Regions from separate parts of the Homo sapiens genome. Here region 2 is linked to region 1. The links are contacts of gene promoters, found by promoter capture Hi-C in human tissues and cell types (Jung and others, 2019). All regions are on one chromosome and are shown on one strand. The core of a region is centred on a gene start or on the middle of the fragment in contact, and the rest is flanking DNA. Distances in the headings are between cores, read along the strand shown.

Evidence for each region. Contacts are between HindIII fragments. The study calls those that stand out against the background at their distance.
Region 2: a fragment that was not itself captured here is called in contact with the fragment with the promoter of PTPN13 in region 1 in 3 of the 25 tissues and cell types used here (dorsolateral prefrontal cortex, hippocampus and neural progenitor cells).

What each region holds. Positions count from the first base shown.
Region 1 is chr4:86,592,932-86,595,642 of GRCh38, reverse strand. It overlaps PTPN13 (protein tyrosine phosphatase non-receptor type 13), which reads right to left and starts at 1,328. Exons shown (of 48, transcript NM_080683.3): 1 at 854-1,328. It also overlaps a transcript of MAPK10 not described here. RefSeq lists an enhancer at 1,091-1,677. The HindIII fragment of the contact is 10,688 bases long and covers 1-2,711 here.
Region 2 is chr4:86,703,490-86,706,189 of GRCh38, reverse strand. All of the region lies in intron 7 of PTPN13 (protein tyrosine phosphatase non-receptor type 13), which reads right to left. Among named protein-coding and RNA genes, the nearest start is that of PTPN13, 110 kb to the right of the region's middle. The HindIII fragment of the contact is 4,391 bases long and covers 1-2,700 here.

The DNA of each region.
Region 1 (2,711 bases), core at 79-2,578:
GCAATTAAATGAAAATGACACAAGGCTGTCGAACAGATTAGTTGGAAGTGTGCGGTGGTGTCGATCATATACGTGTATGGCCAATGAAAACTGTATTGCTGTAAATCTCTTAGTGATATTTCTCCCCATCCTCCTCTCTCCATTATATTCACAACAGAAGGAAATTAAACTTTGTAAGAATTTTCTTGACTTTGGTTTAACTTTAGCTTCCCAGCTGTCTGCTCTTACAGTATCACGTAATGAGCAAAGCGGTGGGGCTAGGGGGCCGGAGGGTAGAGTGTTAACTTTAGCAAGCAGAAGAAAAGCAATAAAAGACCTTGCATCAGACAGTGTCTCTCCCTCTGCCCCCTCTTCCTCTGCTTCCCCGCCATCCCACCCCCTTCTCGAGCCCTTACACACACATTCTTCTGGGCGGCCTCTAACCACACCATCTCCACAATCATTTGCAGAAATTAGAAACAGACTCCGGGAGCCCTTCCCTTAAGCACGCACAGAGCGGAGCTGTGCAAGCACGACGGGGCAATGTCACTCCCTATTACCCCACAATCTCTTACTCCCCCTGTGGGTTTCATTCCCGAGAATCCGGCTTTCTTCCGCAGAGGAGATGGATCTACCTAATTAGCAATGGAGTTTCATCTCATTCTTCCCCACTCCAGTCACCCCACCCCCACTCTAACGTACAAAAACACCCACCACCAAAACCAAAGAAAAGTTCCTTCTACCAGGGCAACCGAGGAGTTGGGTTTAGGGACTGGAGCGAAAGCAGAGAGAGGAGGAAGAGAACGAGCGCAATGTACTTTGTTTTGCACTTCTGCACATGCAGCGCAGAGCCCAGGGCGGCTCTCGTCCTTACCGGCTGGTCCCGAGACCGGGTCCTGCTACTGGAGCGCCGGGCGAGGGCTGCAGGGACGCGGCGTCGGGGCGGGCCGCCGGCAGCCGCCGCGGGCGCCGAGAGCCACCACCACTTCTCCCACAAGCGGCTGCGGGCGTGGGCTGAAGGAGCTGTAGAAGGAGCCTGGGGAGGGGGAGAAGAGGAGCAGCATCTCCTCCTCCTCCTCCTCGCCTCGGAAACGCTCCCCAGCGGCGATCCCGGCCGACTGCCTGACCCCCGAGCGCTCAACGCACCCCCGCCGCCCTACTGTGCTCGACGCCTCTCCAAGAGCTTCGCCAAAACCTTCTGGCGCGGGCGGCTCAACTCCTGTAGGCGACTCTGACCGCTGCCGAGGCGGACCGGGGAGCTACGGAGCACGGCTCGCCAGCACGACGGTCTCCAGGGGCCGTGAGCATGGTGTGTCACCCTCGCCTCAGCGTGGCCGCTGGAGCTACTCGCACCACTGGGGCTCCACCTCGGGCAGCCGCGCCGGCTCCGCCCCCCCGGTCCTGTCACTCAACCATTCCCCGGCACTGGGAGGACCGCAGATCTCCCACCCCGAGCTCCCCTCGACCTCATTGGCCCGCCTGGCATCCAGCTCCACCTCCTCCCTAGGGACGAGGTCGCCAGGGAGACCAGCGCCCCGGTTGCCATGACAACCAGTGCCTTGGGCCTGGCTTTTCGCGTTCTTCGGACTAGCCAGAGGCTCAGGTTGGTGACCGAGCGGCAGAGTTCCTAGCGCCTGCAGTGTGGTGAACTCCAACTTTTAGGCCAAGTTGAAAATGCAGCCGACGACCCCCACACTTCTAACTTCAGAATCAAAACTATGACCCTAGGGAGTGAGGAGGAGAGTGAAAAATGCGTAAGTGCTGGCTCCTCCCTTACTCTTCGCTGCCTCTCAGCCTTGTTTCTATATTCTCACGGGGCGCTTTGGTCTTTGAAAGGAAGAGGAGAATGGGGGAGAGGAAGAGCATGGCTTTGCCAGCTCCTTGCAGCAATATAGCAACTTAGAAATGGCGGGGTCAACGAAAAAAGCCCGGTGAGTTTTCCCACGGTTGTAAAGCTATCTTCAAAAGTGTGGTGACAGCACAACGCCAAATGCCCTAGGGAAAACTGAAATTCTCATATTTTTGAAAAAAGTTTGTAAATACTTGCCTTGTTATTTTATCTATGAGACTAAAATAATCCCGAAGTTTGAAAATTTAAGGAAAAGGTTTAACATAGTCGATAACCTCCCACTTTTCTATATACACTGAAATTTGGCCAAGGTATATCCAGACAGCTGTACCCCTCCTTGCTGCAAGCCGAAATATTTGAGTTTCAATAGTTAAACAAGAGAGTCTTGCTGAATTCATGAACAAATAATATCCTGTGATTTGAGTTTTGAAAGTTTTGGGTTATTCTCAGAGGTATAAGGTAAACTGGTCCACTCTGGAAAGGGTACCTGAAGATAAATTTAGTCTGAGACCCTTAATGTTGAGCCCTAGGTAAATCTGAATTTCATGGCTGGCTCCAAAGTGGAGAGATCTGAGGCTTATTTGGCTTCCCCAAAAAAAGTCAAAGCAGCAATCCTAGGTTCCCTAGCCCCTGAGGCTGCCATACATGTATGATGAATGAGGGAATTAATAGTAATGATTTATCTTTGGCGAGCACTTGAGTTTTCATTATATCATTTACTAAATGAATAACTATGATAGATATCTTCAGTCAAATATGCCTTACAAGTATGCATTGAATGTGATTACTCATAGGGCTAAACACAACGGAAAATACACAGCAGGATTTTAAGCTAAGTCCCCGCTCCCAAGGAGCTAACCTGGAGCCTAAGAAAGAAAACTAG
Region 2 (2,700 bases), core at 183-2,682, 110 kb before region 1:
TGGCAAACTAGTCTACTTCTCTGGACCTCTGAAAATGAGATGTTTGGTTTAAATGGTATCCAGATTCCTTCCACTTCCAAATTCCATGATTTGAAGGTCTTGTGTCCCTTATGCTAGTTAGCTAGTTGATGTTGTTAGCTGGGGAAATGCTGAGGAGATTATTTAGGTAAAGGATCCTTTCAAGAGAATGGGGCCTGGGTTAAGGAAAAAGCTATATTATCAGAGGTTGGAGGAGAAAACTGTTTATTAACTCAATAACCCTCCTAGAACACCCAAAGAACAAATTAAAATTTAGCAATTTTGTTTCTTCCAATTATTATATCAGCTCAAGGAATGTGAGAATACATCCTTTTTTTTTTTTAAGTCACATGTAGTGGGAAATCCTTAGACTGATATTCTGAAAATCCATGATGAAAATCTACAATCTCCAAAATAATAAAACTCTATCTTTAACTCATTATGTGATCTTAGGTATGTTATTAAATCTTTACAAGCCCAAGAATATGTTTCGATAACATGTGCTCTAAGACCTCTTCTAATTCTATAATTACTGAAACCCATTAGCAGCTGCCAAATTTAAAGATCACAAAAATTGTACAAAACATTTCTTTTTAAAACTTTTAAAACACAAATAGTTTAAGAAAGAAATGTGTACAATAAAATGTATACATTGATATTTACAGTTCTGCTTGATTTATCACACATAAAAGGGATCTGTGAAGCCTGTCTCTCACTAGAATTAAATGAGAAAAATGGGATTTACATGATTTTCTATTCTTTTTTCTTTGTATAGTAGCTAAAATCTTCATATTAACAAGCTGCACGTTTGTTTGCGCATGTCTTTTTTTTTTTTTTTGAGACGGAGTCTTGCTCTGTCACCCAGGCTGCAGTGCAATGGCACGATCTTGGCTCACTGCAACCTCTGCCTCATAGGTTCAAGTGATTCTCCTGCCTCAGCCTCCTGAATAGCTGGGACTACAGGCATGTACCACCACACCAGGCTAATTTTTGTATTTTTAGTAGAGATGGGGTTTCACCGTGTTAGCCAGGATGGTCTTGATCTCCTGACCTCGTGATCTGCCCGCCCTGGCCTCCCAAAGTGCTGGGATTACAGGCATCAGCCACCGCGCCCAGCCTTGTTTGCAACATAAATTACCTCACCTTTAGAAAAAGCACAGCATAAGACCAGCAAGTTACTCAACTAAATAACTAGTAAGAATTAGTGCTTTTGAATTCTAAACTTCTAACATTCCTTTTGATTAATGCCTGTAGTCTAAAGCAAACATAATTTATTGCTGCTTTCAAGTTACTATATAATAATGGAGGTTTAAGGTAGTGTATTTCCATAATAATCCAACATTTTTAGGTGTTTGTTTAACTGGGTTGTAAAATATCCTCTGGGGGAATAATGGGTAGGTTCTTCATGAGAGCAAATGCTTTTGAAAACCCTAGTTAAAAAGATTTCAAGATTGTCCTATATCGAACAATTGAAAGCAGATTTTTTTTTAAAAAGCTTTTCTTTTGTTTGTGCATCCTATAACAAATACGAAATTTCTAAATCTGGAAATGATGTATCAAATACGTAATTACCTTTTGAACAAATAAGGCTCTACAAGAATTATGTATCATCTTTGCAGATATAAAAGCATATGTAGAAATAAGATGGTCTGAGTTTCCTTAACACTTATACACATGTGCATACACATTAACTGAGAAGATAATAGAATCATATGCTACAATAGTCTAATATATTTTGTTATTGGTAATGAAAAACAAACGAAATATATTAAATAGACTATTATGGTATAATTTAACAGATTAAATACGTTTCCATTAATGTTTGATGTTTTTCCTGTTTAACTCTCAAACCAAGGTTCAAGTATAAAAAAAAAATCTCAAGCTTTGCTAATTCACATTACTACTAATTTACCAAATATCAAGACAAGTAATGTTTTGAAACTTAGATCACACATAAAAACATTAGAAATTATAATGATTATTATTTGAGACGGAGTTTCGCTCTTGTTGCCTAGGCTGGGGTGCAATGGCGCGATCTCGGTTCACTGCAACCTCCACCTCCTGGGTTCACTTGATTCTCCTGCCTCAGCCTCAGCCTCCCAAGTAGCTGGGATTACAGGCATGCACCACCATGCCTGGCTAATTTTTGTATTTTTTTTTCAGTAAAGACGGGGTTTCTCCATGTTGGTGAGGCTGGTCTCGAACTCCCGACCTCAGGTGATCTGCTCGTCTCAGCCTGCCATAGTGCCAGGATTACAGGCATGAGCCACCACGCCTGGCCAATTTTATTATTACTATCATTAGAGACAGAGTCTCGCTTTGTTGCACAGTCTAGAGTGCAGTGGCTTGATGACAGATCACTGCAGCTTCAAACTTCTCAGCTCAAGTGATCCTCCCACCTCAGCCTCCTGAGTAGCTGGAACTACAGGTGTGCACCACCACACTTGGATAATTAAAAAATTTTTTTTGTAGATATGAGGTCTTGCTATATTGCCCAGACTGGTCTTGAACTTCTGACTTCAAGCAATTCTCCCACCTTGACCTCCAAAAGTGCTAGGATTACAGGTGTGACCCACCATGCCTGGCCTATAATTTCATTTTTAACATTCACAATAAAAAAAAGATACCATTCAGCCTTTTAAATACTCATATAGATTGGTACATATCTTCATTATTTCTATT